Linked DNA regions of Homo sapiens: regions 2 and 3 are each linked to region 1. Evidence: promoter capture Hi-C in 16 types of primary human blood cells and fetal thymus (Javierre and others, 2016). All regions are on one chromosome and are shown on one strand. The core of a region is centred on a gene start or on the middle of the fragment in contact, and the rest is flanking DNA. Distances in the headings are between cores, read along the strand shown. Region 1 holds the start of SRL (sarcalumenin). Region 2 has its middle 2.1 kb from the start of TRIDDENT. Region 3 overlaps ADCY9 (adenylate cyclase 9).

The links. Contacts are between HindIII fragments. The CHiCAGO score rates a contact against its expected background, and 5 or more counts as called.
Region 2: a fragment that was not itself captured here is called in contact with the fragment with the promoter of SRL in region 1 in 1 of 17 cell types (M0 macrophages); the score reaches 5.6 in M0 macrophages.
Region 3: a contact is called between a fragment that was not itself captured here and the fragment with the promoter of SRL in region 1, in 5 of 17 cell types (M0 macrophages, endothelial precursors, M1 macrophages and 2 more). The highest score is 11.7, in M0 macrophages.

What each region holds. Positions count from the first base shown.
Region 1 is chr16:4,240,120-4,243,608 of GRCh38, reverse strand. It overlaps SRL (sarcalumenin), which reads left to right and starts at 1,529. Exons shown (of 6, transcript NM_001098814.2): 1 at 1,529-1,602. The coding sequence starts at 1,542. The HindIII fragment of the contact is 10,843 bases long and covers 1-3,111 here.
Region 2 is chr16:3,950,780-3,954,268 of GRCh38, reverse strand. It overlaps a transcript of ADCY9 not described here. Among named protein-coding and RNA genes, the nearest start is that of TRIDDENT, 2.1 kb to the right of the region's middle. The HindIII fragment of the contact is 695 bases long and covers 1,540-2,234 here.
Region 3 is chr16:3,973,448-3,976,936 of GRCh38, reverse strand. It overlaps ADCY9 (adenylate cyclase 9), which reads left to right. Exons shown (of 11, transcript NM_001116.4): 10 at 2,227-2,268. Among named protein-coding and RNA genes, the nearest start is that of TRIDDENT, 25 kb to the right of the region's middle. The HindIII fragment of the contact is 1,166 bases long and covers 1,110-2,275 here.

The DNA of each region.
Region 1 (3,489 bases), core at 280-2,779:
CAGCCCGAGTGACATAGGAAGACCATGTTTGCAAAAAACAAAAAAATTAGCCAGATGTGGTGCACACCTGTATTCCCAGCCCCTCGGAGGTTGAGGTGAGAGGGTGGCTTGAGCCCAGGAGTTCAAGGCTGCAGTGAGCTATGATCGTGTCACTACTCCAGCCAGGGTGACAGAGACCCTGTCTCTTAAAAAAGATTAAAAAAAAAAAAAAAGTCAAGTGCCTACCAGATGCCTAATTCTTTTTTTTTTTTTTTTTTTTTTTGAGACAGAGTCTCGCTCTGTTGCCCAGGCTAGAGTCAGTGGTGCAATCTTGGCTCATGGCAACCTTCGCCTCCTGGGATCAAGTGATTCTCCTGCCTCAGCCTCCTGAGGAGCTGGGATTATAGGCACCCGCCACCACACCCAGTAATTTTTGTATTTTTAGTGGAGATGGGGTTTCACCATGTTGGCCAGGCTGGTCTCAATCTCCTGACCTCAGGTGATCCACCCGCCTCGGCCTCCCAAAGTGCTGGGATTACAGGTGTGAGCCACTGTGCCTGGCCCTGATTTAGTTCCTTTCCTCCAAGGCTGGCTTCTACCTCTTCCCCACACAGTGACACTGTACCCCGACCAGACAAGCAAGTGTCTGCTTTCCCTTGGCTTCTTACAACTGGCTCTCTGGGCCATCTACAAAAAATTTTAAAAAATTAGTACAGCATGGTGGCACTACTGTCCTAGCTACTTGGGAGGCTGAGTTGGGAGGATTGATTGAGCCTGGGAGGTCGAGTGCAGTGAGTGATGATTGTGCCACTGCAGTCCAGCCTGGGTGACAGAGCGAGATCCTCTATCAAAAACAAATAAACAAAAAAGCACTTTGCAGAGGTGACTGAATGTTCTGGAACCCCTGGGCCATTGGAAATGGATATCTGTTGCTCCATCCTCCAGTTTACACCGTAGCCTCAGCTTGTGTCTCAGTGTGCCCCTCTCCCTCTGGTCTGTGCTCTCTCTCTTCCAGAGGCTGGGAAGGTTGTTCCAGGGCTGCAGCCTTGGACCTCAGAGGTCACATGTTGCGGGTTTGCCGTAGCTGACCACTCTCTAGCATGTGGATCAGTGGCTGTTAAATAGGATTTCTTTTGCGTGGCCTTACAACTTCCTCCTTCCAGTGCAGGCGTGTCAAGGTCCTTAACCTGCCGAGACTTCAGGTCAAGTTATTGCAAGTTCTGGGAAGACTCAGCTTCCCAGCTCCACCGCCTGAGCCCAAGGGATGCTCCATTTTATGCCTGTCACCCACGCCCTGTGACCCATGTCATGTGATCCCAGGGCTGCAGGGGTTCGGGGGAAGAGAATCCAGCCACGGCCCTGCCTTCTGGGGCCTGGCAGCTGGGACAGCAGTGGCGCAGCCTGAGCCTCTGCACAGCCTTCTGGGGTCCGGGCTTCTTCCCCATCACACCCTCCTAGTTGCCCTGGTGACTGTGTGACCCCTCTCCCCCCTCCACCGCCTGCTGCCACGGCCGGCCGTATAAATAGAGGCGAGGAGCAGCTGGGCTCTCTTGGCAGTCACCATGAGGGCGCTGGTCCTGCTCGGCTGCCTCCTGGCCTCGCTCCTGTTCTCAGGACAAGCAGGTAGGGCCCCTCCCAGCATGACCCAGCCCAGACTGGTCCCCCACGCTTCCTCCAAGGTTTTCTGTCTACCATGGGTTGGGTAGGGGGTCGGGGCTGATGGCAAACCCTGGCTCTTGGCTGGTGTCTTCTTACCCTTCTCTTTTCCCCGGGCCTGGGGCCTCAGAGAAAGAGCTGGGTGCTGGAGAATAGCAGCACAGTTGCGGGGCCCTCAGGAAGGCCAGAGGAAGTGGGAACGGCAAACAGAGCTGAGCTGTGAGCCAGGGTCAGAGAGGAGTCTGGCCAGTAGATGTGGGAAAGAGGGCCCTCAAAGTCGAGACGGGGGAGCCTCTGAGACGGACAAAATAGCACAGTCTGGGAGCTGGAGGTCGTTGAGGTGACCCTCCCACCTGGTGGGATATAAGGCGGAGGCCCCACTCGGGTAAGAGAACTGGGTTTGCGTGGACAGAAGGGGATACAGTGGGCAAAGGTGGGGACCGTTTTGGGAGCAGTGAGATAGAATTGGAATTGGTTTGGGATAAGATCGGAAATAGAGTTGGCGGTTGGGCTGGAAACAGCATTGGATGCAATTCAGAAGAGGAACGGGGCCCGTTCTGGAGTAGAGCCTCTGCTCGGGGTGGGGGCTTCCATCAGAAAAGGGGCTTGGCTCTGTGTGCTGAGGCTTCCCTTTGACATCTCAGCACTTTGGGTAGCAGAGGTGGTGGCTTGGGTTGCAGCATGGGGGTTATCTATAGGCTATGGAGGAGATGCCAGATTGTTTTGCCACCTCTCTTGTTCCTAAGGTTCCTGAGGCCAGGTTCCCCGAGGGAATGCTTTTAGGGAGGTGCTCCGGGGATCCCCCTAGGATCCGGACTGCCCACCGAGTCTTTTCATGACTCGGCAGTCTTCCCCCAAGCTGGGCTCTGAGCCTAGGTCCGTACCTGGGACTGGAGAGGCCCAGAGTCCAGCCTCTCAGGTCTTTGAGGTTGAATAGGGGGTTGCAGGGGCACAGTCCCTGCAGGGAGAGCAGGCAGTGGGTGGGAACAAAAGCTATTTCTCGGGGACTCAAGATGTAAGGTGGGGGGCTCCAGCCACTGCATGTGCTGCTGGGCCCTGCCCTTGTCTGTCCTTGAGTTAATTTGGGCTCTGCAGGGCTGCAGCGGCTTGAGTGCTGAGTATTCCAGGCGGCTGTCAGGCGGCTAAGTATGGAAACAGCCGCGTAATTGGATCCGGAGCCCCAAGCCGCTGCCACCCTCTCCCTTCGTGGCCGCTCCTGTGCTGCCCCCCAGCCCCAGCTGCTGGGCTGCTACACACTGGGCCCCAGGAATTTTTGGCCTTTTAGGGACATCCTTTATCTTTCCTCCCACCGAGGGAACTGGTCATCTGGAATGTTCTGCAGGCCTCGCTGGGGGCTCTTGTCGTGGGGAAAGGACGCAGGCAGGTGCTTGTGCAAAGGTCCCTTCTCTCTGCTGTCTTTCCTTCCTGGGTCCCACAGCGTGCGTCTGCCCCTGGCCCAACCTCCGGCGTAAAGCTTCCCTCTGTCCCTGCTCCTGCTCAGCACTTGGGCTGTGGGTTTCATCCACTGTGGTGGATTTTATCAGGACTCTGCCCCACTGTGGACTGTATACCCCAGAATAGGCCTCCTCCTGCATCCACCGGCAGGTTCTAACCCACAAGGTGGCTTCCTCACGCCCCCATCATGACAGTCCTTCCTACTGGGTGATTTCCCCTTCAGAATTGTGCCACCCCGGTAAATACCACCCCACCCAAAGGTCACATCTTGGCTCCTGACCTCTTTCCCTCATCTCTCCGCTGTGTGCTAACTTCCCTCCCTATCATGCTTGCTCCTTGGCTGGGTGGCGGCAGATATTCTCGCTCACCACTCCCATCTGCTTCCTAGGCCAGGGACCC
Region 2 (3,489 bases), core at 638-3,137, 290 kb after region 1:
CATCGTCGTTCACCAGGACCCAGTGTCTGCAAAGCTCAGCTCCCAGCCTGCCCCGGCCAGCTCAGCGACGCCCGTCCTGCAGCTCTGCATGTCAGAAGCCACTGGACGGGGTGCGTCAGTGGGGCCTCTGGGTACATCCTCCTCACCCTGCAGCATTAAACCAAAGTGCTAATGATAACACCCAGATGAGTGCCAAGTGGAAAAATCAGAGCCTTACCATCCTCTGTGAAATCCTGAGTCAGTTTCACGCTTTGTAGGCATTTTAGGATTCAGCCATCCGTGAGATGATCCAGTTATTCCAATCAAATTCCACCTTCTCAATCCATGCAGCAATCCTCACACCAAAAACCATTCTGGGAGGCGTAAGAGCTGTGACGCGGCTCTGACAGCGACCTCCCCGTGCTGATGGTCACTTTGTCCCCACAGGTTGCCAGAACCTGATGTTTTTGCTGTTCGTGGTGTTGGATGGCTGCAAAGGGGTGACGGCGGTTCAAGCAGGCTTCTGACTTGTCCGTCGTATCCCAAAACCGGCGTTTTTTCCACACACACTGGCTGAAGCTTCCTACCTGTGGGCTTGGGAGCTTGCTAGTCACAGAATAAGGAAATCCACAGGTGTTAAAGAATCCGTCCATTCCAAAAGCGTGGATGGTTTTTTTTTAATCATCATGTTTTCTAGAAATTGCTCGGTTTTTATTTCTTTCCTCCCCTCTAACCCTCTTCTTATCCGCATTTTCCCATCTTCTCTTTTCCAGAAGACGAGAACCCTGTGGAGAGGGAGACTCCAAGTTTCCCTTCAGTTCACAGGAAGAGAGTTGCCGTGCAGGAGCCTAATTGTAAATTTGAAAAAATTAAAAACTGCTTATGCTCTGTCAATTACCAAAACGAGGAAGGACTGTATCTGTGAAATACGTATATATTTTTTGAGATGGAGCCCCGCTCTGTCGCCCAGGCTGGAGTGTAGTGGCGCGATCTCGGCTCACTGCAACCTCTGCCTCCCAGGTTCAAGTGATTCTCCTGCCTCAGCCTCCCAAGTAGCTGGGACTATAGGCACAGGCCACCACGCCCAGCTAATTTTTGTATTTTTAGTAGAGATGGGATTTCGCCATGTTGGCCAGGCTGGTCTCGAACTCCTGACCTCAAGTGATCCGCCCACCTCAGCCTCCCAAAATGCTGGGATTACAGGCATGAACTGCTGTACCCGGCCTGGTTGTTGCATTTTAATGTACTGAGCCAAGCACCAGGCTCCAGGGACACTGCTACTAGGTGGCCTGTCCTTGGCTCTGATGCAGGCGCTTCCAGGAAGAATGGGCTGCAGCTCTGTGCAGCCTGCCTGTGCTGGGCCAATGTCAGCTCCCCTTGCTCGAACAGGATTGGCCAGAACACGCCCTGTGCCTGCGAGCAGCCTTGAATGCCACTGGGGATTTGAGGTTTAGGCGTCCCGTTCCTTGAGCAGGAACCTCTGCAGAAAGGCAATTAGAAGAACAAAGTGCCCTCTCCCTGACGGTCTGTCTCCCTCACACCAAAAAGGAAGGTGAAGCTTCCTTTTTAAGGAGACCCCTTTTTAAGAACCACGGGGTAGCTGTGGTGGTTCACGTCTATAATCCCAGTGCTTTAGGAGACCACAGTGGGAGGATCACTTGAGCCCAGGAGTTTGGAACCAGCCTTGGCAACAGGGGTTGGAGGCTGCAGTGAGCTATGATCATGCCACTGCACTCCACCCTGGGCAACATAGTGAGACCCCATCTCTACAAATGATATAAAAGGCACCTGGGGGTGGTGGTGCGTGCCTGTGGTCCCAGCTATTCAGAAGCCTGAGGCAGGAGGATCGCTTGAATCCAGGAGTTCAAAGCTGCAGTGAACTGTGATTGTGCCATTGCACTCCAGCCTGGGCACCAGAGCGAGACCCTGTCTCTTAAAAAAAAAGAAGAAGAAGAAACATGTATGAGATAGAGCGCTGCAAATCTGGTTCCAACTTTCTCTGTGATTTTGCTGGAATTTGTTCAACACTGAGCTCACAGACAGCAGTGAACCAAAACTTGTTTTCTTTGGACTGCTTTGAGCAAAAATAGAAGAAAGGGGCTCATTTTTTTCCAGTGATTTTTTATTTTTCATCAATAGTGCAGATCCAAAGTAAGTATTTATTCACTGGCCTGATTTCCCAATCTTTTAACTTAGAAGTATGATTGCCAGTTTCCTAGGTTTTTAAGAATACGCTGAAAACAAGCTGCCAAGCTTAGGAGCCGAGAACCATAGAAAGTTCTGTCCATGTGCTTGGATCAGATTTCCAGCACAAACTGTGATGTGTACATCGCTTAACTCGGAGTCTGACTTTTGTTAGCTGTTGTTGGATGAACAGGTGTGTGCAGCGGATGAGTAACATGATACAAAGAGAGGTTGTACTTCCGCTGGGAGGAGAATGGGCATTTGGGTTTTTGTTGTTGTTGTTGTTTAATTTCAGCCCAACTGTTTAGAAAGAAAATTCTTGCTGTCTTTACCACTTTGTGCTGCACAGGGAGGTGGGAAGGAGGATGTTAGACGTGCGTATTAACAAATGCTCTTATGGCTACATTTTTTGGTCCATGCAAAAAAAAAAAAAAAAAAGTTCGTCTTTTTTTTATCCAGTTATCAAACTTGTGTAAAAATAAGAAAGTATATCCTTAAATAGAATTGTGCCCTGGAAGGAACCCAGATGGCTCTCTTGAGATTAAAATAGTCATCCCAGCCGGGCACGGTGGCTCATGCCTGTAATCCCAGCACTTTGGGAAGCCAAGGCAGGAGGACTGCTTGAGGCCAGGAGTTTGAGACCAGCCTGGCCAACATGGTGAAACCCCCTCTTTACTAAAAATAACAAAAATTAGCTGGGAGTGGTGGTGGGTGCCTGTAATCCCAGTGACTCGGGAGGCTGAGGCAGGACAATCACTTGAACCCAAGAGGCGGAGGTTGCAGTGAGCCGAGATCACGCCATTGCACTCCAGCCTGGGCAACAAGAGCGCAACTCCGTCTCAAAAAAAAAAAAAAAAAAACTTAGGGACATCATTCTCAGTTTTTTTTAAAGGGTACTAGTTTTAGTTTTGATTTACCAATTTATGTTTCCGAGACGTTTTTTCAATGAAGTGAGTCACTTTTGAACTATTGTGAGGCACTCATTCTAATTTCATGGCTCTCAGTTTACAGGAACATAACATTTGATGCCAATGAAATTCATTAGAATTCTGCGCTATCCTGTGAACTGCGTGCCCATCTGTCTTGTATGTGTTTCCAGGGGTGGCTTACAATGGTCTTCGCCATGTACTGGATGGACGTGTACTTATTATGAATCCTCACACCCTGAGACCCAAGAGGATCCCTCGTAAAACAAGGCCATATCTGATTTGGATTAAAATCCCCACGGAGAACCTGATGTCACCCAGGAAAGTGCACGTCTCCTTGCGTGCTCTTGAGAAACGGTTGAGAAAACAGTCCTTCCAGCTCAGTAAATACCATTTTCTT
Region 3 (3,489 bases), core at 443-2,942, 270 kb after region 1:
CCTGTAATCCCAGCACTTTGGGAGGCCAAGGCAGGCAGATCACCTGAGGTCAGGAGTTCAAGACCAGCCTGGCCAACATGGTGAAACCCCGTCTCTACGAAAAATACAAAAATTAGTCAGGCATGGGGGCGTGCACCTGTAATCGCAGCTACTTGGGAGGCTGAGGTAGGAGAACCGCTTGTACCCGGGAGGCGGAGGTTGCAGTGAGCTGAGATTGTGCCATTGCACTCCAGCCTGGGTGACAAGAGTGAGATTCCATCTCAAAAACAAAAAATAATAAATAGGTCAAAACAGTTCCCCATATGATGTCATGAGACGTAGGATTAATGACCAGTCACTGAACATAGGTCTTTTATTTTGAAATCCTCTGCATACTGAGGAGGACGCTGGCCTTCAGAACCGTATCACTGGTAGGTGCTGAGGAATGGGATGGCGCAGACACAGAAACAGGAGTCAGGGAGGCCGGTAGACCTCTGGGGACAAGCCCAGTTCTCATCATTGTACTACAAAAAATGTAAAAACTTACAGGATGGCAGTGATAGGTGCTATATTTAAAATATTTGCCATTAGCGACATCCAGTAAGATCCCTATCTTTCATGTGTTGCACTAACTGAATAATTCTTGATTTGTTAAAAATAAGTCCCAGCCGGTCTTGGTGCTCACGCCTGTAATCCTACCACTTTTGGGAGGCTGAAGCGGGTGGATTGTCTGAGCTCAGGAGTTCAAGACAGCCTGGGCAACACGGTGAAACCCTGTCTCTACTAAAAATACAAAAAATTAGCCAGGCATGGCGGTGTGCACCTGTAGTCCCAGCTACTCAGGAGGCTGAGGCAGGAGAATTGGTTGACCCTGGGAGGCGGAGGTTGCAGTGAACCGAGATCGCGCCACTGCACTCCAGCCTGGGTGACAGAGCAAGACTCAGTCTCCAAAAATAAAAATAAAAAATAAGTCTCAAAATTGCCTATTACACATTTGCTACTGGTTTCAGGGTATTTTAAGCCTTTTCAACTAAATGTGTTGTTGGAAATACAGTAATACCTTGTATAACAGAATGTAAGCAGTGAACAATTTATTCAAATATTTCGTGATATCTTAAACCCATTAAGCTTCCATTCATGTAATAAATTTCTCCCAAATATTGGGCTTTTCCTATAACTGCTTATAAAAATGTTTCACTATTAGTGTGTATTGAAGAACCGCCTGTTTACAATTACAGAGGGTTTAGGTGCGCAGAATGTTTTAAAGTCACATGGGACATTTCTTCCTTGTCCTTGCAGGAGATCTAACATTCTGGCTCCCTGAGTTATTAAGAGAACCAGAGGGACCCCTGGCATTTCCGAAATGCCCCGTTGGAGTGGCATTGCTGTTGCCAAGGACCTCTGCTTGAATTCATTCAAAAGCACAAAATGATTCTATTTGCCGCAGTATTGTCAGTATCAGACGGAGTAGGCACGGGGTGTCTTTGGTTATTAGCAAAGCAACAGTCCAGCCATGGGCAGTGTGAGCATCCGTCCTCAGTTTACTTAAGAAAAGAATCACAATACAAAAGACATTTAAATTCCCTGCAAATTAAGATCAAAAAGGGAATTTAAAATAGGACTGTCATTCAGTACTTGAAAGGAAACTTTAATGAATAGATTAAGCAAAATAAAGCAGACTTGGATTTTTCTGAAGGTATGGCCATCTAGAACGATGGTCACGATGAGCTCTTTCTCGAGAGTATGAAATCCAGCAAACTGCTTTTTACCTTTTAAATCCATCACAGGTCCCTCATCGGGCATTCACCGTGGCCTTTAGTCATGGCTGCGGGGCTTTTCTACCTGGAGCTGGAGAGCCACAGTGATGGGGGACCCCTCTGCCGCCTTTGTGCCCAGAGTTCAAATAGCAGATCTGGGGTAGGGATGATGGTTGAAGTTCCACTCGGCCCAGAACTCCTCCATCCACTTGAGGCCTCAGAGCCCCTAATCCCATCACGGTTGCTAAGCCTCAGCAGGATAGAGAGGATGCGGGATGGTAAACAAAGACGTAAACTCAGCTTTACCAAGGGAACTGCCCCCAGCATTGGGAGACACAGATGTGAAGAAAGAGGTGGGAGCAGGTGGCTTTATGTGGATGTACAACCACGTCTAAAAAAGGAACATAGTTTGTTCAAGCTCTTCTCAGGTTGCCTTGTGGAATGCCTTCTTTGCTCTTTATGATAATATTTTTCTGCATTTTAATTTCAGTTCTGTATTAACTTCGCCCCTTGACGCAGTACAGAATTTCAGGTAAGCTTTTAATATTGCACTTCTGTCTGAATAAACGAGAGTGACTGTATTACCCTGCCCATTTCGAAGCTTCCTGAAAACAATGGGATCTTGAATAAAAGGAACAATACGTGCATTCTTAGAATAGAAAGTGGAAAATATCTCCTCGTTGAACTGTATCATAGTTATAATGTCTAATGGGGAAAATAAAATTAGTTTTATTATTTTAATAAGACATTACAGTCATGTAATTTTATGTAAGACTTTCGCATGCAACAAAGGAAATCTCGCAAATCAAAGAAAAAAGTTATTTTGTAAAATATTTTAAAATAACCGACTTGAAATCAGCCAGGCACGGTGGCTCACGCCTGTAATCCCAGCATTTTGGGAGGCCGAGGCGGGCGGATCACGAGGTCAGGAGATGGAGACCATCCTGGCTAACACGGTGAAACCCCGTCTCTACTAAACAAAATACAAAAAATTAGCTGGGCATGGTGGCGGGCGCCTGTAGTCCCAGCTACTCAGGAGGCTGAGGCGGGAGAATGGCGTGAACCCGGGAGGCGGAGCTTGCAGTGAGCCAAGATTGTGCCACTGCACTCCAGCCTGGGTGACAGAATGAGACTGTGTCTCAAAAAGTAATAAAATAACTGACTTGAAATCCAAAATACTAAATGTTTGACCCTTGCTTTACTATAAACAGCAGAATAAATTCTAAATAAATTGAAGAGTCGGAAATAAAAATTAAACTATATAAAATCTAGAAAAAGTAAAATTCAATAGTTTTCAAGCCTCTAAAACTGAGATAACTTTCCAGGCTTACAAATAATAAATAGAACCACAACGAAAAGATGGACAGATTTGAGAGGAAGGGAGAGAAAATCAAAGCACACAGAAAAGGACCGGGCTCGGTGACTCCCGCCTGTAATCCCAGCACTTTGGGAGGCCAAGGCAGGAAGATTACTTGAGGCCTGGAGTTCTAGACCAGCCTGGGCAACATAGCGAAATCCTGTTTTGGCAAAAAATTGTAAAAATTAGCCAGGTATGGTGGTATGCACCTGTAGTCCCAGCTACTCGGGAAGCTAAGGTGGGCTTGAGGCCGGGAATTTGAGGCTGCATTGAGCTGTGATGGTGTCCTTGCACCCCAGCCTGGTTGTCACAGCAAGACTCTGTCTCAGAAAAAAAAGGCCAGGCACGTTGGCTCATGCCTGTAATTCCAGCACTTTGGGAGGCCAAGGCAGGTGG